3 separate regions of the Homo sapiens genome follow, and regions 2 and 3 are each linked to region 1. Evidence: promoter capture Hi-C in human tissues and cell types (Jung and others, 2019). All regions are on one chromosome and are shown on one strand. Each heading gives the region's core, a stretch centred on a gene start or on the middle of the fragment in contact. The rest is flanking DNA. Distances are from core to core; before and after follow the strand shown.

What was found. Contacts are between HindIII fragments. The study calls those that stand out against the background at their distance.
Region 2: a fragment that was not itself captured here is called in contact with the fragment with the promoter of OAZ2 in region 1 in 2 of the 25 tissues and cell types used here (hippocampus and spleen).
Region 3: a fragment that was not itself captured here is called in contact with the fragment with the promoter of OAZ2 in region 1 in 1 of the 25 tissues and cell types used here (spleen).

The regions. Positions count from the first base shown.
Region 1 is chr15:64,701,872-64,704,815 of GRCh38, reverse strand. OAZ2 (ornithine decarboxylase antizyme 2) reads left to right here and starts at 1,535. Exons shown (of 5, transcript NM_002537.3): 1 at 1,535-1,787. The coding sequence starts at 1,768. LOC124903507 (a long non-coding RNA gene) reads right to left here and starts at 273. Exons shown (of 3, transcript XR_007064679.1): 1 at 184-273. RefSeq lists silencers at 1,400-1,719, 1,730-1,949. The HindIII fragment of the contact is 8,869 bases long and covers 1-2,944 here.
Region 2 is chr15:64,925,645-64,928,588 of GRCh38, reverse strand. It overlaps ANKDD1A (ankyrin repeat and death domain containing 1A), which reads right to left. Exons shown (of 15, transcript NM_182703.6): 5 at 2,419-2,523; 6 at 1,590-1,688. Among named protein-coding and RNA genes, the nearest start is that of ANKDD1A, 15 kb to the right of the region's middle. The HindIII fragment of the contact is 6,466 bases long and covers 1-2,944 here.
Region 3 is chr15:64,503,245-64,506,188 of GRCh38, reverse strand. The region is part of intron 2 of ZNF609 (zinc finger protein 609); the gene reads right to left. Among named protein-coding and RNA genes, the nearest start is that of ZNF609, 44 kb to the right of the region's middle. The HindIII fragment of the contact is 8,439 bases long and covers 1-2,944 here.

The sequences.
Region 1 (2,944 bases), core at 286-2,785:
TGTGAAGGAGAGTAACCATATCCTGAGATGACTCCAATGTGAGATGTTTGTGAACTGAAAGTCATAGTGACCGCCGATCTGGAGTGTCACCCTTTCTCTGAGTTATCACTCTTTCTGCAAAGCTGTCCCTAATTCCCTAAATTACTTTCTCTGTGGCATTCCTCAGATTGAGCACTTACTTACCTGGTATTGTGATGACCTGTGTCTCTCCCCTTGACCGGATTGTGACATCCAAGGCAGGAACCTTGCCTGGTTGATTATGGCGTATTCTTGGACTCTAGCACATGCCTGGAGCATACAGTAAGTAGCTATTCAATAATTATTTGTTGGCCGGGTGCGGTGGCTCATGCCTGTAATCCCAGTACTTTTGGAGGCCGAGGCAGGTGGATCACCTGAAGTCAGGAGTTCAAGACCAGCTTGGGCAACATGGTGAAACCTCGTCTCTACTAAAAATACAAAAATTAGCCGGGCATGGTGGTACATGTCTGTAATCCCAGCTACTCAGGAGGCTGAGGCAGGAGAATCGCTTGAACCCGGGAGGTGGAGGTTGCAGTGAGCTGAGATTGTGCCACTGCACTCCAGCCTGGGCCACAGAGAGAGACTCCATCTCAAAAATAAGTAAATAAATAAAATAATTATTTGTTGAATAACTGAATGGATGTAATCTGAGGTGACAGAGTGACCCACTGTGATCTGAGATAATGTGACCTCTCTTGATTGCAATCTGGGTTGACTGTGAACAGAGTCGGGGCTTTTGATGATTGTGTTGAAGTGTCTGTGATTGTAACCTACAAGGACTGTGATCTGAGGGGTCTGCGCACCGGTGACTGTGGCCTTCAGGCACTAATCTGTCATAAGGACCAGTAGGGATAATGAATGGAGGTGACTGAACTAGTAACCTTGCATGATCGATTGAAGTAACTTGCACTGATTGTGATCTGAAGTGACCGTGAACAAGTTAGTGACGACGCTTTCCACGACTGTCTTGTTGTGACTGTGCTCATGATCTACAGAGTTCTGGCTTCAGATGACCTAAGCCAGTGCTTGGAGCAGCCTTGACGATTGACATGAGATGTGTGCGAGATGCTGAGATTGTTGATCTACCCTGACAGCTGAGGTTATTGATCTGCATTATGAGCTGAGATAACAGATCTGTGGGCCTGGACTCAGACTAGGAATGGTGCTAATATGTGTGTAGTTCTCTTAAGATTTCTGATTTTGTTTTAATATCCTCCCAAATGGCACAGCCCTGTTCGGCCCCACGCCAACAAGGAATAGGGATGAGGACCAGGTTGAGTCAATCCTCACAGAAAACTACCGGAAACACAACGCATCTTCTGGGCCGCGCTGCCGCAGCTGCGGGCAGACCCACCGCCTTGGTCATGGCCTCCTGCACAGCCTGCCCTTCGTTCGGACCCCCTAGCCCTACCCCCACGATCGGTCCGTGGTGCGCCTGCGCGGAGGCGGGGCGGTGCTTTGCCCTTTGTTGTGGGCCCCAGTTTCCCAGGACACCGCGCGGCGCTGGGGTGGGGCTATGCAGATGAGGCACTCGGGGGCGGGGCGGCGGCGGCGGCGGCGGCGGTGGCGGCCGGGGAGGGTCAGTTGGAGGCAGGCGCTCGCTGAGGCAAAAGGAGGCGCTCGGCCCGCGGCCTGACAGGGACTTAGCCCGCAGAGATCGACCCCGCGCGCGTGACCCCACACCCACCCACTCATCCATCTATCCACTCCCTGCGCCGCCTCCTCCCACCCTGAGCAGAGCCGCCGAGGATGATAAACACCCAGGACAGGTAACGGCCCGGCCCAGGCTCCCCGCCCCCATCCTCCCTCATCTGCTCCAGAGGGCCTCTCACGTACCCCTAGCCGGCCCCCGCCCCCCGCAGCGGGGCCATCCGCCCCCAGCCAGGTCCGTTCACCACTTCAGCCACCCTAGTCCGGTCCTCAGCCCTGCAACTGGGCCTTCTTCTGTCCTTTAGCCCCCTCTTCAGCCGGGCCCATCCCCCTCATCCGGGCCTTCTCCTCCCCTAAAGCCCCCAAAAGCCGGAACCCAACCTTCCAAGCAAGTCCCCTTTTTTCTTTCAGCCCCACCGAATTGTGCCCCATTCCCCAAACTGGGCTTTCCCCGGCATCCAGATTCCCCAAATTGTTTCCTGTCTTCCTCAAATCTTTCTTACTCCCCTTATAAGTCACTTCACCCTTCCCTTTGAATTCCCTCCCTGATGAAAACTGCACCCCCCACCCAGACTCTTCTCATATCACTGCCCCCCGCAAAGTCAACCTCCATCCTTCAGTTCTCAGTTTACCCCCACTCATCACCCTCCCCCCATTCTCTTCAGGCCTAGCAGTCCTTACACAGATGTCCAGCCTCTTCCTCCTGGTCCCATACTTCAGCTTCATCTTTCCCCCACCTTCCCCTCTCCACACCCCTCTCCCAGTTAGGCCCCATTTTCCCAGTCTCCCAGCGCCATTCCTTTTATTTATCAAACACCAGGTTTGATTCTTGTGCTCCATCCTGTTGCCCCAATGGTATACCCCCAACACTCTTGGAAACATTCTTACCCTCTAAACATCTTTTCTCAGCTGGAACTCATCCTTCTCCTTCCCCTCTTAACTGAATCCCGTCTTTGGATCATTAGATCACAGGACCCAGCCATCTCGCTTCCAGTGAACCTTCCCCCTGTACCTCCAGTGCCTTCAAACCAAGCTCTATATTCTGGACACTAGATCTTTGCAATTTCCTCCCTCAAAACCCGACCCTAGTCTTCCCCCATTAATTAGAGAAAGGCTGCACATCTTTCTCAGACCGAGCACCCTGGTTTTCCAAACTTGCATGGTATATCCTTCCCCCTGCAGATAGTTCCTCAATTTTCCTTTCTCTACATGCCTCTCTTTCTCCAAGACAACCCTTCTCACCTATCTCTCCCTCAAATTTTAATATATCCCATAT
Region 2 (2,944 bases), core at 127-2,626, 220 kb before region 1:
TTGAAAAACTTACCGTGCCCCACTCCCAGATGAAACTGAAAATGAAAACACTCCCATTGTGAAAACACAAAACTTAACAGGGGTATGCAATTTTAAAAGCTTCTTTGCAGAATTTCTGATTGCAAGATTCTGGAGAAGTTCATCAAAGCTGTATTTTATCTTTCACTGTTCTTGGTGCTCATGCTCTCCTGGGGCCCTGAGGTGTGATCATTTTGCCTCTTGGGTTTGCCAGTCCTGGCAGGCACTGCCCTCCCCGCTCTTTGCATGCCTAGTTCCTGGCCCAGTGCCTTGCACAGGGTAGGACCTGCTCAGCCCAAAAGGATGAGTGTGGATGGACTCAGTGCAGAACCCAAGGGGGTCCAACCCAGGAGGCAGCCTGGTAAGGGGAGAAAGACAGCTTTATGCATTAGGATGCTGCTTCCAAATCCAGCTCTACCTGTGTCTCACTGTGTGGCCCTGGCTAAGGCATGTCCCTCTCTGGGCATCAGTTTCCACAGCTGTAAAATGAGAAGGCTGAATTCAGATGCCTTCCAGTTCCAAGACCCTGCAGTGCATTTGTGTGTGAGCTCTCTATCACTTCATTTTACACAGAACTCCCTCTATCCTGGCCAAGCACATTAACCAGAAGATTAATAATGGAGTTAATCTCTTTGTTGGAGGCATCATTTAGAATTTGCTGTAACAGGCCGGGCGCGATGGCTTACGCGTGTAATCCCAGCACTTTGGGAGGCTGAGGCGGGTGGATCACGAGGTCAGGAGATCAAGATCATCCTGGCTAACACGTGAAACCCCATCTCTACTAAAAATACAAAAAAAATTAGCTGGGTGTGGTGGCGGGCGCCTACAGTCCCAGCTATTCGGGAGGCTGAGGCAGGAGAATGGTGTGAACCCGGGAGGCGGAGCTTGCAGTGAGCCAAGACAGCGCCACTGCACTCCAGCCTGGACGACAGAGCGAGACTCCGTCTCAAAAAAAAAAAAAAAAAAAAGGGAATTTGCTGTAACATATTTTGCCTAATGATTCACAAGGGTCCAATGATAAGAGTCATTTGCAGGGTAGACCCTCTGGTCCCCGTCCCTTACCCCTTCTCAGATTGGTGAAATCCTGCTCACAAGCCCTGAATGATATGCTACCTTCTCCATGCTCCCAACCTATTCCTGCCATAACCATAGCAGAGCAGATGTGTGGCTACCACCCCCTAACACTTCCCCACATCTGTCAACAACAGACAACCCCAGTAGATCACAGCCCTGCTCAACCCACTCCAGGCAGCACTACCAACCACCCAGATCTGCCACCCTGGCCAGCCACGTCGGATCAGAAATCCTTACTATGCCTGTGGCACTGAGTTCCTCGAGTAAGAAACGGTGTCTTGGGCATCTTTATGCCACCAACCTGTAGCACAGGGCTGGCCCATAGCACACGCTGGTGAAGGGCCTGCTGGATGAACACTAAATACACTCTCATCTTTGGGCCACACGGGCCTCCAGCGCAATCGGAGTCAGACGTGGACACAGGTGAGGAGCCAGAGCCTGGAAGGTGGCAAGTTTTGCACCCTGGTCAGGATCCCAGAGCCTCACGGACACGGTACCTTGTCTTTGACATTGTGGTCACAGCCAGAGCCCACGAGGAAGTCCAGAGCATCCAGCTGCCCGTGCTCAGCTGCCCTGTGAAACGCCGTCCTCCCCAGCTGGCCGGGAGGAGAAGCGGTGTGAGCCTTCCTCACTCTGTCAGTGGGCATACCTGCCTCTGCCCACCTGGCCTCTGTTCCCCAACCACTCTGGCTTTGTAGTGGCCTCTCCTGCCCCAGACACTGTCCTCTCCCCTTGCCTCCCCACACCCTGCCTGGAAAGCCCAGACCCAACTTCCCAACAAGAGACACTTGCTGGGGTCCCTCCCTGGCTGAAGTCCTGAGGTGGCTCCTTGCTGCCTAATGAATAAACAGATTCTTGAGGATGGGGGTTGAGATCGCCAGAGGGACCCCCAACCACCCATCAGACCTTCCCTCCTAAGATTCCAGTCCCTCAGAACTCACACTAGAGCCCTTTCCTGTCCCTAAAGCTCCCACAAGCCTCGCTCTTCCATTTGGTGCCCTCTCCAACCCCTGATTTCCAATCTTACCCACAAATCCAGTTTATTTACCAAATGCCACCTCCTCCAGGAAGCAGAAGCAATGGCTTGCTTTTCTAACCCACCTAGTCCTTGATCAAGACCTCTCTGTGGCAACTGACTGTGTTCTGCTTGTATTCTGCTCATTTGCGCCTCAACACCTCTTCCCAACCAGCGGCTCCCCAGGCCAGGTGCAATATGCCCACAGATCAAAGGATGCACCCAAGGAATGTGGTAAGCCCAGTGTGCAAGAGTGGCCCCAGGAGCCCCCCGCCCAATGGGAATGATGAGTAGCCCTGAGGCACTCTCACCTTGTCTACGTGGTCCAGGGCCACATCCTCCAGGTCCTCCATTATGAACGCCAGCACAGGCACATGGCCTTTTTGGGCTGCGCAGTGCAGTAAGGTCAGGCCATCCTGGAAACAAGTGCAGGAGGGTTCCTGCAGTCTGTGAAGGGAGGCCCTTTTCACACACTGCCAGTCTCCCAAACAGCGAGTGTTTGGGACCCAGAACACAGCCTCCCCATGGATACAACACTGTAAATGATGAATGGACCCGAGGGATAACCCACTCTGCTGCCCACTTAGCCTTAGGGGGGCTGGCAGGAGTCGGGATGCCAAAATTCAAATCCCAGCTCCAGCACCCCTCAGCTCCGGAGTCTCGGGCCAGTTACCTCCACCTCTCTGAGCCTCCACTTTCACACAGGACAAACTAGCATCATAATCCCCGACCACTTCAGTGGGTGGTTGAGAGGACTGGACCTACAGGAAAGGTATTTTATCAACTGAAAATTAATTCAAACATGTACGGTGAGGTCGTGTAGCACTAGTAGCCTCC
Region 3 (2,944 bases), core at 272-2,771, 200 kb after region 1:
CGGCAGAGTGAGACTCCCTCTCATAAATAAATAAATAAATACAAACTTATGTAGGTGCTATTTCTCTCATTTTGCAGATAAGAAAACTGAGGAAGAACAATTAAGAAACTTGGTCAAGATCACTCAGTAAATAAGTGCAAAGGTAGGAAACAAAGCCAGGTAGTCTGGCTCCAGAGTTCACACTTTTTAAAAAATTTATTATTATTATTTTTTTGAGACGGAGTCTCACTCTGTTGCCCAGGCTGGAGTGCACTAGTGCGATCACAGCTCACTACTGCAGCCTCAACCTCCCAGGCTCAAGCCAGGAGGCCTGGCTAGAGTTTACGCTTTTAGCCACTAAATTATACATAAGAGTTGATGTGAAATTCAAGTTTAGAAGGCTGGTGTTTTAAATGAGAAGTGGCCCCGAATACTTACCTTGAAAGGAAAATTCTCAAACTTTGATGTATATAGCAATTATCTGGAGAGACTTCTGGAAGTACAGATTTCTGGGCCCTTACCCCAAAAACTTATTCGGCATATCTAGGGTAGGGTCCAAGAATGTGCATTTTTGATACTCTGGTGATGTACATGGTTTTATGGGACACACTTTTAGGAACTCTGCTGTAGACGGTAAACTGTAAGCTCCTCAAAAAGCAGAGACCATCTCTGTTTTATTTACCAGTGTATACCCAATACCAAGTAGAAAACCTAGTATCTAAAATGCATTCAATTAATGTACTGACTGAATGAAAAGTGATAACAATTAGCCAACAGTATATCTTCTCTACAAAATACTTAGTAATATCCACAATACATTTGAAGGTCTGCCTATTAGTGATGTGTCCAAGGAAGAAGCACTAGAACAGGGTTTTTTTTCTTACCTGCAATTGCCAAGTAAAGAAAGAACTATTCCTCAATTATTATAATGAAAATTTGGCTGGATGAAATATTCCAGAACACACACACATATATCATAAGTAGTCAAGCTCAAAGTAGCAGTTTTAAAGTAACTTTCCTTCTTTATAAATAACAGGATAGGTTCAGTGCCAGCTGTAATGGTTATTCTTTGCAAACATCATTCATTACCTTACCTAAAATCCTAAACTCAAAGATCCTTTGTTTATTGAGTGTCTACAATGTTAAAGTCACTGTGAAAAACAAGTGAAAGCAGTTTTGGGGTAAAAGCAATTTTGGAGTATGTAAGCATTTTCATCTAATGTTTCAAGGTAGTCTTTACATTGAAAAAATGGCTGGGTGTGGTGGCACACACTTGTAGTCCCAGCTACTTGCGAGGCCAAGGCAGAAGTGCATAAGTGAGACCAAGGCAGAAGTGCATAAGTGAGGCCAAGGCAGAAGTGCATAAGCCCAGGAGTTCAAGATCAGCATTGGCAACATAGCGAGACCCTGCCTTAAAAATAAGCAAATAGGCTGGGTGTGGTGGCTCATGCCTGTAATCTCAGCACTCTGGGAGGCCGAAGCAGGTGGATCACTTGAAGTCAGGAATTTGAGACCAGCCTGGCCAACATGGTGAACCCCTATCCCTACTAAAATTAAAAAAAAAAAAAAAAAACTAGCCAGGCATGGTGGTATGCACTTGTAATCCCAGCTACTCGGGGAGCTAAGGCAGGAGAATCGCTTGAATCAGAGGCAGAGGCTGCAATGAGCCGAGATCGTGCCACTGCACTCCAGCCTGGGTGACAGAGTGAGTCTCCATCTCGAAAATAATAATACTAAGAAAATAACAAATAAAGTGGGAAAATTGAGAATCCTTCCTGACAGTTAAAGATTTGTTAAGAATCCCAGAGTAACAACATGCCATAAGAATTTGGTGTCTACAAATCTGGCTTTGCCAGTGACTACCTGTGAGATGCTGGGCAAGTCACAGGACTTCACTGGTCTTAGTTTCTTCTATAAAATGAGGAAATTGGACAAGATAATCTTTCTCTGGAACTGCCTTGAATTACAACACCTAGAAGGAAAACAGAGTTTCTGAATGAAAAAATAAATTAAGCTTGTAGTTACAGAATGCAACTCTGTCCCACATAAATATCAACTTCTTTTTAATGTTTTCCATGAAGGAAAATCTTGAGGGCATTTGGTTTCAGGAAGCAAAGCTGACTGCTCTGCCATCAATAGCTGAGAAATAACAGCTAGTGGAAGAAGGCGTTAAGAAAGCCTTGGATCAGAAGGAATAAAAGAGACCTGACCTTGGTTAGGCAATGAGGGACTACAATACAAGAGAACTAAGCTAGAAGGCACAAATTAGGGCAGGAATACAAAACCAATGGCAAAGGAAGATGCTCTTAAGAACACAGGATATGATAGCATGCATGATCAGAAGTTGAAAGAGCAAAGAGCACACTTTATGGTTTTCTTTGTATCCTAAACTAATGGGGGAAGTGGTAAATATATGCAGCATTCTGAAAGCAGCAGAAGCTGACATTCAAACACGGGAAAAGCAAAGTGCAGTGTTCCTACCTTGCAAGATCAAAAGCAGCAGCTAAAGACATGTGAGGGGGAGCTTCTGGTTAGAAACTTCTAGATCCTTTCTTTAACTACTAGAGCCTACTTGGCTATTTTATATGATTTGGGGGAAAAGAAGGAGTCTCACCTTAAACTCCTGGTCGTAAGCCCTGACAAAGTCAGCACAGATAGATCGTTGCCATCTGTGGTTTGTAAATTCCTTTTTTCTTGCCTGTCAGAGTGGCGACATAAGCACTAAGCTCAGGACACTCAGACAGGCGCCTGCCCTCCTCCCTACCTCCCCTTCCATCCCTAACTTAACAATCCATCAATCAAACTAAAGGCAAGGGAACAGGCAAGAGCTGGAAGGCTCTGTCTTGTTTATTCCTCAACATTCCCTCCCCCATCTCTTCAGCTGGCAGGAAGTATGAGGCAGAAGTGTTCAATAACAATTCAGAGCAGCAGCAGTTGCTAAGAGCCATCTCTGGTCTCTCCTAGA